4 separate regions of the Homo sapiens genome follow, and regions 2, 3 and 4 are each linked to region 1. The links are contacts of gene promoters, found by promoter capture Hi-C in human tissues and cell types (Jung and others, 2019). All regions are on one chromosome and are shown on one strand. Each heading gives the region's core, a stretch centred on a gene start or on the middle of the fragment in contact. The rest is flanking DNA. Distances are from core to core; before and after follow the strand shown.

Evidence for each region. The method cuts DNA at HindIII sites, captures the fragments that hold promoters and counts their contacts. A contact is called where the count stands out against the background at its distance.
Region 2: a fragment that was not itself captured here is called in contact with the fragment with the promoter of ZNF440 in region 1 in 2 of the 25 tissues and cell types used here (dorsolateral prefrontal cortex and pancreas).
Region 3: a contact is called between a fragment that was not itself captured here and the fragment with the promoter of ZNF440 in region 1, in 1 of the 25 tissues and cell types used here (spleen).
Region 4: the fragment with the promoter of TSPAN16 here is called in contact with the fragment with the promoter of ZNF440 in region 1 in 1 of the 25 tissues and cell types used here (bladder).

Annotation. Positions count from the first base shown.
Region 1 is chr19:11,812,308-11,815,840 of GRCh38, forward strand. ZNF440 (zinc finger protein 440) reads left to right here and starts at 1,966. Exons shown (of 4, transcript NM_152357.3): 1 at 1,966-2,143. The coding sequence starts at 2,141. RefSeq lists silencers at 1-66, 1,801-1,880, 2,301-2,370. The HindIII fragment of the contact is 18,958 bases long and covers 1-3,533 here.
Region 2 is chr19:12,496,120-12,499,652 of GRCh38, forward strand. No RefSeq gene overlaps it. Among named protein-coding and RNA genes, the nearest start is that of ZNF709, 13 kb to the left of the region's middle. RefSeq lists an enhancer at 1-163. The HindIII fragment of the contact is 4,297 bases long and covers 1-3,533 here.
Region 3 is chr19:12,367,096-12,370,628 of GRCh38, forward strand. It overlaps a transcript of ZNF442 not described here. Among named protein-coding and RNA genes, the nearest start is that of ZNF442, 3.2 kb to the left of the region's middle. The HindIII fragment of the contact is 4,297 bases long and covers 1-3,533 here.
Region 4 is chr19:11,294,447-11,297,979 of GRCh38, forward strand. TSPAN16 (tetraspanin 16) reads left to right here and starts at 1,714. Exons shown (of 7, transcript NM_001282509.2): 1 at 1,714-1,920. The coding sequence starts at 1,852. The HindIII fragment of the contact is 22,007 bases long and covers 1-3,533 here.

The DNA of each region.
Region 1 (3,533 bases), core at 716-3,215:
TCCCTCTTGTGGTGAGGGCGACTTTAACATCCACACATCCTGTCTGGGGGACTGGATTTCTGAGTTGTGCTGAGACTTAAGAGTGGAAAAAAAGTCTACTCTTTTTCCTCTGCTCTCACACAACACGGAATACTTCTGTGACCAAATGCAAATATTTGAGAAGTGTCCCCCACATGCCAAGCAAAGCATCAATTCTGCAACTGACTCCAGCTCGATGTCTTCTAGTTCCAACACTTTCTACCTTTACATAAGGTACAAAACTGCCTCAGAAATCATCTGACCATGTGTCCCGGTTTGCCAGTGATAATCCTTGATAGTACCTGTTGTCCCAACATAGTTTTTCATAGCACCTCATCTTGCCATGGTTATCTGTGTCTGAACAATGAATATGTATGAATACTTTCACACATAAGCAAAATTAGGTTTATTAAATGAAGTTTCCAGGAATGTTCAAATTTCAACACCTGATTTACCTTATCACAAGTTATGGCTGTGCTAATTTCTCCAGGAAATATTCACAGAATATTGAATTTATCATTGTAAGGTGTGGAGCAATGAAGATGCCCAAGAGGCCAGGCGCACACCTGTAATCCCAACACTTTGGGAGGCTGAGGCTGGAGGATCACTTAAGCTCAGGAGTTTGAGATCAACCTGAACAACCGAATGAGACCTCATCTCTACCAAAAATAAAAAACTAGCCAGGCATGGTGGCAGGCACTTGTAGTCCCACCTACTTAGGAGGCTGAGGTGGGAGGATTGCTTGAGTCTGGGAGGTTGAGGCTGCATTGAGTAGCCATCGCACCACTGCACTCCAGCTTGGGCGACAGAGTGAGACCCCGTCTCAAAAAAAGATGGCTAAAACATAATTTTTTTTTTTTTGAGATGGAGTCTCACTGTGTCTCAGGCTGGAATGCAGTGGCACGATCTTGGCTCACTGCAAACTCTGCCTCCCGGTTCAAGCAATTCTCCTGCCTCAGCCTTTCAAGTAGCTGGGATTACAGGCATGCGCCACCATTCCTGGCTAATTTTTGTATTTTTAGTAGAGATAGGATTTCACCATGTTGGCCAGGCTGGTCTTGAACTCCTGACCTCGTGATCCACCTGCCTCAGCCTCTCAAAGTGCTGGGATTACAGGCATGAGCCACCGCGCCCGGCCTGCCTAAATCATAATTTCTATGACAGAATTTCTCATTTACAGCTTCCCCTGAGACCATCTTTCATTTCAGTTAACCCTGCTCCTTGGGGGTTATATGTGAGATAAAAGTGCCATGCTATATCATGTTCCCTGGCTCAGTCCTACACAGCATGTCCTGAAAAATGGGTCTTCAGTCACTGTCAATGCACCAGGGATAGATATACATAGTACTGAGAGCCTCTAAATCTTTAATAAGTTCTGGCTTGGTTAGCTCCCTTACAAGGAAAACCTTGCTGGAGTCCATAGCAGTGTGAGGAAGCCTTGGCCATGCCTCATCCCATTTCCCGCACGCTGGAAGACATCTGCCTCTCTCTCCTGGTGCAGTCGTGCCTTGCCTGGTCTGGGCTCCCCTCCTGCTCTGAGGCAAGCGTATCTCTCCATTGAACACTGAGTCTGAAATGCCCTGCACACACTTGTGATCCCGTGCAGAAGGAAGGAGCAGGGACAGCCCCTTGAATGAGGAAGCTAACAGTGCCTCTTCTAACAATAAGGAGCAAGTCGCCTTGAAATGCAAATATCTGATGACCAGGGCTCAAGGAAGGCGCTCGCTTAGAGAGGCTGTTCGCTTAGAGAGGCTGCTCGCTTAGAGAGGCTGCTCGCTCAGAGACGCTGTGGCCAGAACAAGTCAGACATGATCTGCAGGACCCGGTTACCCAGGGCTTCTGCTGTCACTCAGCACGGAGGAGGCGGGGCCTGGCGCCCCATCCAATCAGGGGTGCTGGGGCGGGGCCCTGTCAACTGTCCATCCGGGGAAGGGGGAAGGGACAGTCGCCCTCCGTCCATTCCTTTAGTGCTGCGCCGACAGCGGTCAGGATCTCGGCTTTCTTGCTTCGAGAGGGACTAGGTGCCTCCACCAGAGCTTCTGTCGCTCTGTAACCTGCACTGTGACCTACACTAGTCGCGGGAGCCACGCAGAGGACGCCGGAACACCCTGGAAGCCGAGAAATGGTGTGTGTGAGGGGGCTGGCGTCCGGGCGACTGGGAGAGGGGCTGGAATCGGCCGGAACCGGCTGAGGCGGGACCCGGGCCTCCACGCGGCGACTCCGGGGTCGTGGACGCGAGTCCCCTCGGTCGCAGGGTGGGGCTGGGCCGGCAGCCGGGACCCCGGGCCTCCTGTCCCGTCCCTTCACGGCGACTGCGGCCCCGGCTCCGGAGCCTAATCTGGGCAGCTCCGCGTCTCCCCACATTATGCGGGGGCCACGGGAGGGATATGGGGGGATCCCGCCTCGGATATGGGGTTTGTTAGAAACAAGTGCCCGGTGCCGCAAAGAAAACCAGCATCTAGGCAGAAAATTCCTCAGCAAAGCAAATTTATTTCTACACAAGGGTGCAGCTTGCGCCAGTCACAAGAGCACAGCGAGCGGGGTAGGGCAGGGGTTTTTCTCCTTAACGCAGTTTCTAGCACTTCTGTGTCCTTTCCTCATTGGCTAGGGTTGGACCTCACAATCTAAACTAACTCGATAGGCTAAGGTTTAAAATTAAATAGGGTCTGGCCAGGCGCGGTGGGTCACGCCTGTAACCCCAGCACTTTGGGAGGCCGAGGCAGGCGGATCGCGAGGTCAGGAGATCGAGACCATCCCTGGCTAACACGGTGAAACCCCGTCTCCACTAAAAATACAAAAAAATTAACTGGGTATGGTGGCGGGCGCCTGTAGTTCCAGCTACTCGGGAGGCTGAGGCAGGAGAATGGCGTGAACCCGGGAGGTGGAGCTTGCAGTGAGCCGAGATCGCACCACTGTACTCCAGCCTGGGCAACAGAGCGAGACAACTGGGCAACTCCGTCACACACACACACACACACACACACACACACACACACACACAAATTAAATAGGGTCTATGAGACGGGAAGGAACAGGGACTGTCCGTTACTAGGCGGGAAGGCGTATCTGGACTTGTCTGGGCGCGGCAAAAGCGGGAAGGTTGTTTACAGAACAGGTAGCTAGGAGACAAGGAAGTCGGTCTCAAGAAACAAAGAACAGCTTACTAAAGCTTTTAGAAAAGTAATTTATCATCTCTGACAGGTTCGTGTGGGAGGAGTAGCGGTCTTTGGGGTCCCCAGTGCCCACTTTTTTCTGTTAAAAATTAAACTGAGGTACGTTAACAATTAAAGAGTTTAGGGCCGGGCGCGGTGGCTCACGCCTGTAATCCCAGCACTTTGGGAGGCCGAGGCGGGCGGATCAGGAAGTCAGGAGTTCAAGACCAGCCTGGCCAACATGGTGAAACCCCATCTCTACTAAAAATACAAAAATTAGCTGGGCATGGTGGCGCGTGCCTGTAATCCCAGCTACTTGAGAGGCTGAGGCAGAAGAATTGCTTGAACCCAGGAGGCGGCGGT
Region 2 (3,533 bases), core at 409-2,908, 680 kb after region 1:
CCCTGTTAAATACAATTTGTAGGAAGCCATTGGTTTAGACTGAGCTCCTGCACTAGACCCAACAGACCAAACCAAAATGAGTTACCCACGGGGACGTTCCTCGCTACCAAGCTGAAACTAAGTTGTTTATCTGACCTTACAAATTATCAGGAGAGAAAGAGATGCTGGTCAAATCCCCAACAGGCCAGTTTTAGCCAACATGATAAAGAAAGTCCCCTCTGCTTTAACTTTTACCAGAAAAGCAACTTTGAAAGTTCCCGTCTTTCAACTGGGCGTGATGGCTCACGCCTGTAATCCCAGCACTTTGGGAGGCCGAGGTGGGTGGATCATTTGAGGTCAGGAGTTCGAGACCAGCCTGGCGAACATGGTGAAACCCTCGTCTCTACTAAAAATACAAAAATTAGCTGCATGATGGCCTGTGCTTGTAGTCCCAGCTACTCAGGGGGCTGAGGTGGGAGGCTCACTTAAGCCCAAGCCCTGGAGGTCGAGGCTGCGGTGAGCTATGATCTCGCCACTGCGCTACAGCCTGGGTGACAGAGGGAGACCCTGTCTCAAAAAAATAAACATCAATAGCGGTTGAAAGCCCCATGACTGGGGAGCAGCAGCCAGAGACTAGTGACTTCAAGCTAAGACCACTCTTGAGCCTGCAAAGGGAGGTCATTGAAAGCCCAGATGGGTCTTCCTGGGGAGCCTTCCCCAAAAGTGTCCTACTTGCTCTCACCCACCAAGGAAAGAGCTCTTTATACAGAGAGAAGCTACAGAGCACTGGAATGCTGGGAACCGCACGCGGTTTTAGGAGAACCGGGAGGGTTTTAATTGTCTAGGTTGTAATTGTAGTTTCCTTGGGTCTACTTTTAGACATTAGGTTTGAGTTTTGCTTTCACATTAGGGTACACTCGTGGTGTAATTTTTCCATATTGAAAAAGTCTGTGAAAGTTACAAGTTCTGTCTCCTGGACATGGTGTTAATGACTTTGGGAGTTCATTTGTGTCAGAACCTTCATCTGAATCCAGCTGACAGTTTCGTCACTTACGAGAACCAGTGGGAAGGGGCATTCTCTGCTCCCGGAGTTCATTCCTGTGGCTGCTCAGGTGTCCCTGCTGTCACCAGGGACTATTCCACTCTAGGGACTATACCCTAACAGGGAGAGAGTGTGGACTCCAAGCTTTGGTATGTGTTTAACCTTCTGGATGTTGGTTTTTCTTCTGAATTGCGGAGAAGCAGGCTGCTTATCTGAGCTGATTCAATGTTTGTGTTTCTTTCCTTTGGATTCCTTTTTCTATTGAATATTGCAGCACTTTAACTCCAGTTTCCTTTAACATTTTGTAATTTTATTCCCTGTATGAGTCTGTAGGATTTTTAGTTTGTTGGTCTTTGAAAATTTAAGTTGATTGAGAAATATGATGTAAGAGAAGCAAATCCTGGAACCAAATAGAATTTTTATTCCTTTCAGGCAAAAGAAGCTCATGGTGTGAGATGGATATGTTTAACTTCTCAGGTGCATTTTTATTTTTACATTAGTTTGTGTGTGTGCATATCCCTAGAAAACTTTCAAACTTCAAAGGCTCTACTATTCCCAGGGCAAATGGATTCCTGTTTTAATTGATACGAGGAAAACTACTCCTCAAAGCTTGTGTAATCTTTGAAAAATTCTACTACATTTAATGGTTATATCCAAACCCTAATGTATTATAATATGCTACTCTTTTTTTGAGACTGAGTCTTGCTCTGTTGCCCAGGCTGGAGTGCAGTGGCGCCATCTCGGCTCACTGCAAGCTCCACCTCCCGGGTTCACGCCATTCTCCTGCCTCAGCCTCCCGAGTAGCTGGGACTACAGGTGCCCATCACCACGCCTGGCTAATTTTTTTGTATTTTTAGTAGAGCTGGGGTTTCACCATGTTAGCCAGGATGGTCTCGATCTCCTGACCTCGCGATCCGCCCGCCTCGGCCTCCCAAAGTGCTGGGATTACAGGCGTGAGCCACCGCGCCCAATCTATAATATGCTACTCTTTCCTGAAAATACCCCTCAGTGTGAGATACAGTGGACAGACATGCTATGATGCAGATTCTCTTAAGATTTGAAATTTTACATTTCGTATAGTTTACACTTTTAAAAGTGTATAAAGGATTAAATCTTAATGAAGACAACTTAAAATTTAAAAAAAACTACATTATTTAAAGACTTTAATAGTAAAATATAGTGCAGATAAATATCTTCGTTCATTTTATTTTTTTATTTTTTATTTTTTTTGAGACGGAGTTTTACTCTTGTTGCCCAGGCTGGAGTGCAATGGCACAATCTTGGCTCACAGCAACCTCCACCTCCCAGGTTCAAGTGATTCTCCTGCCTCAGCCTCCCGAGTAGCTGGGATTACAGGCATGTGCCACCATGCCCAGCTAATCTTTTTGTATTTTTAGTAGAGATGGGGTTTCTCCATGTTGGTCAGGCTGGTCTCGAACTCCTGACCTCAGGTGATCTGCCTGCCTCGGCCTCCCAAAGTGCTGGGATTACAGGCGTGAGCCACCGTGCCCGGCCTTTTTAATGTATATTTTTAGACAGGGTCTTGCTCTGTCACCCAGGATGGAGTACAGTGGCACGATCGATCATAGCTCACTGCAGCCTCAGCCTCCCCTGCTCAAGTGATCCTCCCAACTCAGCCTCCTGAGTAGCTGGAACTACAGGCACATACCACCATGCCTGGCTAATTTTTGTATTTTTTGTAGAGGCAGGGTTTCACCAACCGGCAGGGTTGCCCGGGCTGGTCTTGAACTCTTGAGTTCAAGTGATCCTCCTAGCTCGGCCTCCCAAAGTGCTGGGATTACAAGTGTGAGCCACTGCACCAGGCCTCCATTCATTTTAGAGAGATAATACATGTGAAGGTTAAAAAAAAAAATCTATGAGACAGGAAAATCTAACATAAGACTCACTGTCAAGCATATCCTGGTTCATTCCAGGATTCTTGCTCCAGCCACCCCGCCCTTCGTAAAAACTTTTGGTAATTCCTTGTGCATCCTATTAGTGTTTCTTTATTAAAACAAGCAATTGCAGGCCAGGCGCGGTGGCTCACACCTGTATTCCCAGCACTTTGGGAGGCCGAGGCAGGCGGATTACCTGAGGTCTGGAGTTCGAGACCAGCCTGACCAACATGGAGAACCCTTGTCTCTACTAAAAATACAAAATTAGCTGAGCGTGGTGGCGGGTGCCTGTAGTCCCAGCTACTCAGGAGGCGGGCGCCTGTAGTCCCAGCTACTCGGGAGGCTGAGGCAGGAGAATCACTAGAACCCAGGAGACTGAGGTTGTGGTAAGCTGAGATTACGCTATTGCACTCCAGCCTGGGCAACAAGAGTGAAACTCCGTCTCACACAACAACAACAACAAAAACAAGCAATTGCAAATGCATGTTTTTCTTATCCATGTTTGCTCTTGTAATGAGTAGTTGGACTCCACCCTTTCTGGTATTTGACTGTTGGCAGATTCAGTGTCAACCCCCCTCTTCTTTCTAACAGCTGCCCACTGTCAATGGAATCACCAA
Region 3 (3,533 bases), core at 492-2,991, 550 kb after region 1:
CCAGCTGAAGAGTGACTACTATCGGGGAAACCAGCCCCCAATATTTCAACGTAGGTTCTATTTTCCCTAAGTGTCGGCCCATCTGAGAAATTAAGAGAAAGAGTACAAAGAGAAGAATTTTACAGCTGGGCCTCCAGGGGTGACATCACATATCGGCAGGTTCCATGATGCCCACCTGGGCTGCAAAACCAGCAAGTTTTTATTAGGGATTCTAATAGGGGAGGGGGTGTACGAACAGGGAGTAAGTCACAAAGATCACATGCCTCAAAGGGCAATAAAAGATCACAAGGCAAAGGCAAAATTAGAATTACTGATGAGGGTCTGTGTCCTGCTGTGCATGCACTGTCTTGATAAACATCTTAACAGGAAACAGGGTTCGAGAGCAGACAACCAGTCTGACTAGAATTTACCAGGCTGGAACTTCCCAATCCTAGTAAGCCTGAGGGCACTGCAGGAGACCAGGGCGTATTTCAGTCCTTATCTCAACTGCATTAAGACAGATACTCGCAGAGCAGCCATCTATAGACCTACCCCCAGGAATGCATTCCTTCCCCAGGGTCTCAATTATTATTATTATATATATTTTTTTGAGACAGAGTCTCACGCTCTGTCCCCCAGGCTGGAGTGCAGTGGCACAATCTCGGCTCACTGCAACTTCTGCCTCCTGGGTTCACACTGTTCTCCTGCCTAAGCCTCCCAAGTAGCTGGGACTACAGGCGCGTGCCACCATGCCCGGCTAATTTTTTGTATTTTTAGTAGAGAAGGGGTTTCACCGTGTTAGCCAGGATGGTCTCGATCTCCTGATATTGTGATCCACCCGCCTCGGCCTCTCAAAGTGCTGGGATTACAGGCATGAGCCACCACACCTGGAAGGGTCTCAATTATTAATATTCCTTGCTGGGAAAAGAATTCAGTGATATTTCTCCTACTCACATGTCCGTCTATAGGCTCTCTGCAAGAAGAAAAATATGGCTTTATTCTGCCCAACCCCACAGGCAGTCAGACCTTATGGTTATCTTTCCTTGTTCCCAGAAAATCGCTGTTATTCTATTCTTTTTCAGGGTGCACTGATTTCATATCATTCAAATACAAATGTTTTACAAACAATTTGTACAGTTAATGCAATCATCACGGGGTCCTGAGGTGACATACATCCTTAGCTTACGAAGATAACAGGATTAAGAGATTAAAGTAAGACAGGCATAAGAAATTATAAAAGTATTAATTTTGGGAACTAATAAATGTCCATGAAATCTTCACAATTTATGTTCAGAGACTGCAGTAAAGACAGGCGTAAGAAATTATAAAAGTATTAATTTTGGAAACTGATAAATGTCCATGAAATCGTCACAATTTATGTTCTTCTGCCGTGGCTTCAGCCGGTCCCTCCATTCGGGGTCCCTTAGTTCCCGCAACAGACTACAAGATTGACTGCAACTAATGTATAACCTGGCAGGATCCACGACGGAGAAGTCCCTTCACCAAATGGGACAATAATTCAAGAGGGGCAACCAGAGCAAGTCACGCCACCTGGTACCTCTAGCCCCGCTTGCCTCTTCTGCATTCCAAACCCTTTCTTTAAAAACCCCTGGGTTCTCTCCACAAATTGAACAGTGGAATTGCTTTCTGCTCTTCCCCTGCTAGGACAGATAATAAAGAAATCTCGTTCCCTCTTATCACAACTCATTATTATTTTGACTTCTTTCCACACGCGGTGAGCAGCCAGACCCTTTTGCCAGTTACAAGTGGGATCAGCACCTGGTGATGGGGCAGAGGCACTGAAGGATTTAGGGATGAGGGAGCTCAACTTGCCCTCCTGTGTCCTCTGCGCAGTGTGAAAATGCTCTCTCCTTCAAGACTTTAAATATTAATGAATTAAATGCTCCAATCAAAAGCCAAGGCATTAGAATTTGAAAATATAAAGATTTCCCATATTTGTATGAAATACAAGTGTCACTGGTAAACTGAGTTCTTTCTCTAGTTTGTATGAGTCACAAAGAAAGAATACCTAATGGAACAAAAAAAAAAGGCAAGCAGGATTTATTTTCTGGCCAGAGAAGGAGAAGGGGTCAGAGTCAGCTCTTGCTCCGAAGATACTTCCTCCTCCTAGAGCTGTGGGAAGCTGGGTAATTTTAAGCAGCTAGATATGGGAAGGGGAAGTTTGTAATATGGGTAGAAAGGAACTTCAGATGTTCACAAATCATAAACATGTCTCTTTATACCACACATGTTCAAAAGGCCAGCCGGGTGCAGTGGCTCACGCCTGTAATCCCAGCACTTTGGGAGGCCGAGGCGGGTGGATCACCTGAGGTCGGGAGTTTGAAACCAGCCTGACCGACATGGAGAAACCCCATCTCTACTAAAAATACGAAATTAGCCAGGCATGGTGGTGCACGCCTATAATCCCAGCTACTTGGGAGGCTGAGGCAAGAGAATCGCTTGAACCCAGGAGGCAGGGGTTGCAGTGAGCACTCCAGCCTGGGCAACAAGAGCGAAACTCCATCTCAAAACAAAACAATGGGCCGGGCGCAGTGGCTTACACCTGTAATCCTAGCACTTTGGGAGGCTGAGGCAGGCGGATCACGAGGTCAGGAGATCGAGACCATCCTGGGTAACATAGTGAAACCCCGTCTCTACTAAAACAATAAAATAAAATAAAAATTAGCTGGGCGTGGTGGTGCATGCCTGTAATCCCAGCTACTCAGGAGGCTGAGGCAGGAGAATCACTTGAACCCAGGAGGCAGAAGTTGCAGTGAGCTGAGATCGTGTCACTGCACTCCAGCCTGGCGACAAAGCTAGACTCCATCTAAAAAAAAAAAAACACGACGAGAAAGCTGCCGTGACTTTCTTCTGTGGGTGGGGATTTTCATCTTACAATAAGGTATCAGTGATCTAAACCAGCAGTTCCTAACCTTTTTGGCACAGGGACTAGTTTCTTAGAAGATAATTTTTCCATGTACTGGAGTGGGGATGGTTTTGGGGTGATTCAAGTACATTACATTGATTGTGCACTTAAATATTATTACATTGTAATATATAATGATGTAATTGTACAGCTCGCCATACTATAGAATCAGTGGGAGCCCTGAGCTTGTTTTCCTGCAACTAGATGGTCCCTTCTGGGGGTGGTGGGAGACAGTGACAGATCTTCCAGAATCTCATAAGGTGCATGCAACCTGGATCCCTTGTGTGCGCAGCTCACAATAGGGTTCGTGCTCCTATGAGAATCTAATGCTGCCTCTGATATGACAGAAGGCAGAGCTCAGGTAGTAATGTGAGTGATGGGAAGTGGCTGTAAATACAGGTAAAGCTTTGCTTACTCGCCCGCTGCTCACCTTCTGCTGTGTGGCCTAGCTCCTAACAGGCCACAGTCTGGTACCGATCCATGGCCCAGGGATTGGGGATCCCTGATCTAAAGGCAACAAGGGGTCACTGGTTCTGGTTTACTCTGGTTTTGAGCAGGCCTTATCTTATTCTGATAATTGGCAAAGGGTCCTGAAGCTCCCAGGCCATCTGGAGTCCTAGTAAGCTAG
Region 4 (3,533 bases), core at 464-2,963, 520 kb before region 1:
CCGGGCTGGAGTGCAGTGATGTGGTCTCGGCTCACTGCAACCTCCGCCTCCCGGGTTCAAGAGATTCTCCTGCCTCAGCCTCCCGAGTAGCTGGGACTGCAGGCACCCGCCACCACAACCGGCTAATTTTTTGTATTTTTAGTAGAGACAGGGTTTCACTGCATTAGCCAGGATGGTCTCGATCTCCTGACCTCGTGATCTACCCACCTCGGCCTCCCAAAGTGCTGGGATTACTGGCGTGAGCCACCGCGCCTGGCTTCAAATGACCTCTTAAATAAAGGTGTGGAAGGACACACTCCTGGCTGTGAACAGCACCCGTGGTCCAGGAGGAGACAGCACTCCTCTGTGAACATCTTGCTTAGTTCTACATGTTCCAAGAAGCAGGCGATTTGACAGACATTCATTAAATTAATTAAAGTGTAAGGTATTTTCTCCCATTTGAACCATCCGCCTTCCCCCAATCCATGCAGGACCTGGACCCAGACACACCCCAGCCCAGGGCTGGACAGAGAGGGGATCGGGGTGGGGCAATGTGAAGCTGCTATGGTTAGGGTGGGGAGGTATGGGGGCAAAGTGGGCTACAGACTGCAGGATCTAGGCCTGGAGGTCTTCAGTGCTGACATACAGAAGGTTTTTGGTCCTGAAATGCTAACTACATCTATCACCATGGAGAAAAGCCCAATGACCTGCTACTTGGGAGGCTAAGGTGGGAGGATCACTTGAGCCAGGGAGGTCGTGGCTGCAGTAAGCCATGATCACACCACTGCACTCCAGCCTGGGCAATGGAGCAAGATCCTGTCTCAAAAGAAAAAAACCCAGTGACCAATGGCTCACAGTTCCAGGACTCTCTGCCTTACAGGTTCCTGCCCTCATGTTACTCTTGGGGCTTCAAAGCCTGGTCTTGCTTCCTGTGTGGCCTCAGGCAGTTCCCTTGGCCTCTCTGAGCCCTGTATGAAGGATGGGCCAAGTATGGGCTTGGGCTTGGGAGGCCCGGTGGCTTGTAGCTAGATTTCTGCATCACAGAGCCTCTGGATCCATTCATTCATTCTCCGCGGGTTTCTTAAGTACTGCAGTGCCAGGCTTTGGGGACACAGCTGTTTTTGTTTTTGTTTTGTTTTGTTTGAGACAGAGTCTCACTCCGTCAACCAGGCTGGAGTGGAATGGCACGACCTCAGATCACTGCAACCTCCACCTCCTGGGTTCAAGTGATTCTCCTGCCCCAGCCTCCCAAGTAGCTGGGATTATAGGCGTGTGCCACCACACCCAGGTAATTTTTGTATTGTTTGTATTGTTAGTAGGTCTCAAACTCCTGACCTCAGGTGATTCGCCCGTCTCCGCCTCCCAACATGCTTTGACTACAGGTGTGAGCCACTGCGCCTGGCAGGGGTCACAGCTGTTAATAGGACAGCCCAAGTTCCCCCCTCCCCCGCTTGGATCCCCCAGTCTACTAGGAGATGTCAACTGTGCAAGTGGTTAGCTCTGGGCACTATGCCCACAGGGTCCTGGTGGCATCTGGAGGGTACCAGGGTAGCATACCATGCCTGTTCTCTTTCCCTGCTGTGACCTGTTTGAAGGATGAGGAGCCAACAGGGGGCAGTTTGGGGCACCTGATTTCCCTGGACCATGAGCCTTGCTCCAGAACCCAATTGTGATGTGATAAAAGGCTTATGACCAGGGCAGGGGGCAGCTGCTGGGCCGCCTTGGACAACCATCAGGCAGCCAGGACACAGAGGGGCAGAGCAAGTCAGCATTGGCGCCCCTTCCTCAGATCCCTATCATCTTGGGAAACAGTAGCCCAGAGGTTCAGGAAGATGTTAACTTAAATGTTCAGGGTGCCCCAGTCTGTTCAGCATGGCTGAAATCCACACTCCGTATTCTTCCTTGAAGAAACTGTTATCTTTACTCAATGGCTTCGTGGCTGTAAGTATGTCACAATCCAGGCCCCTGGTTTGTTGCAGCCCTTCCTCCACAGTCAGCTCCCTGAAAGACAGAAATAAGTTGATCCAAATTGGCATCGAGATCTGTGGTTCCCTGGAGAAGCAGGAGGGATGTAGGGCAGACGGAGGAGGAGGAGCAGGGAGCGTGGGGACCTCCATCAACCGAGAGCTGGTGAAATCCAGCACAGATGAGTGTGATCTGGGGGAGCCCAGGTGGGTGATGGAAGAGCTTGGCTCTAAGTCAAATCCTGTAGCCGACCAAGTTGTTTGGGAAGGCCAGGAGAAAGGGTTATTTTCTTGATCTTTTAAATTTGTCACATTTTTTTCCTTACCGTAAAAGTAACCCGAAATGTACATTGCTAAGGAATTGTCAGGCCGGGGGCGCTGGCTCATGCCTGTAATCCCAACGCTTTGGGAGGCCAAGGCGGGTGGATCACGAGGTCAGGAGTTCAAGACCAGCCTTGGTCAATATGGGGAAACCCCATCTCTACTAAAAATACAAAAAAATTAGATGGGCGTGGTGGCACGTGCCTATAATCCCAGCTACTCAGGAGGCTGAGGCATGTGAATTGCTTGAACCTGGGCGGCAGAGGTTGGCAGTGAGCCGAGATTGTGTCACTGCACTCCAGCCTGGGCAACATAGCGAGACTCTGTCTCAATAAAAAAATAAAAGAATAAAAACATAAAAAGAAGTAATTGTCTTCATTGTAGCATAGTCTAAGGAAAAGCTGCCAGGAAAGAGAAGGAAATGAAATATCACTCCTCCTCTTCACTTGTAACATTTTAAAGAGAATTAAGGCCGGCTGTGGTGACTCATGCCTGTAATCCCAGCACTTTGGGAGGCCGAGGTGGGCAGATCCATTGAGCCAGGAGCTCGAGACCAGCTATAGTGAGATCCCCATCTCTATTTAAAAAATAATAATACAAAATAAAGTGTTATTGGAACATGGCCGTGCTCACTTATTTGGAGATTGTGAACAGCTGCTTTTGGGCTACACCAATAGAACTGCGTAGTTTCAACAGACACCTTAAGTCCTGCAGAGGCCACAACATCTGGGTTTTTCAGAAAAAAAAAATTGCTAATCCCTGTCCTATGACATTATTTTATTTTATTTTATTTTATTTTATTTTGAGACGGAGTCTTGCTCTGTCACCCAGGCTGGAGTGCAGTGGCATGATCTCAGCTCACTGCAACCTCCACCTCCCAGGTTTAAGCGATTCTTCTGCCTCAGCCTCCTGAGTAGCTGGGATTACAGGTGCCCACCACCACGCCCGGCCAATTTTTGTATTTTTAGTAGAGACAGGGTTTCGCCATGTTGGCCAGGCTGGTCTCGAACTCCTGACCTCAGGTGATCCACCTGCTTCGGCCTCCCAAAGTGCTGGGATTACAGGTGTGAGCCACTGTGGCTGGCCTATTTTATTTTTTGAGACAAGGTCTTGATCTGTCATCCAGGCTGGAGTACAGTGGCACAGTCATAGCTCACTGCAGTCTCAACCTCATGAGCTAAAGTGATCCTCCCACTGCAGACACCTGAGTAGCTGAGACTACAGGCACGCACTACTACTGGCTATTTTTTTTTTGTTGGGGAGAGGGTA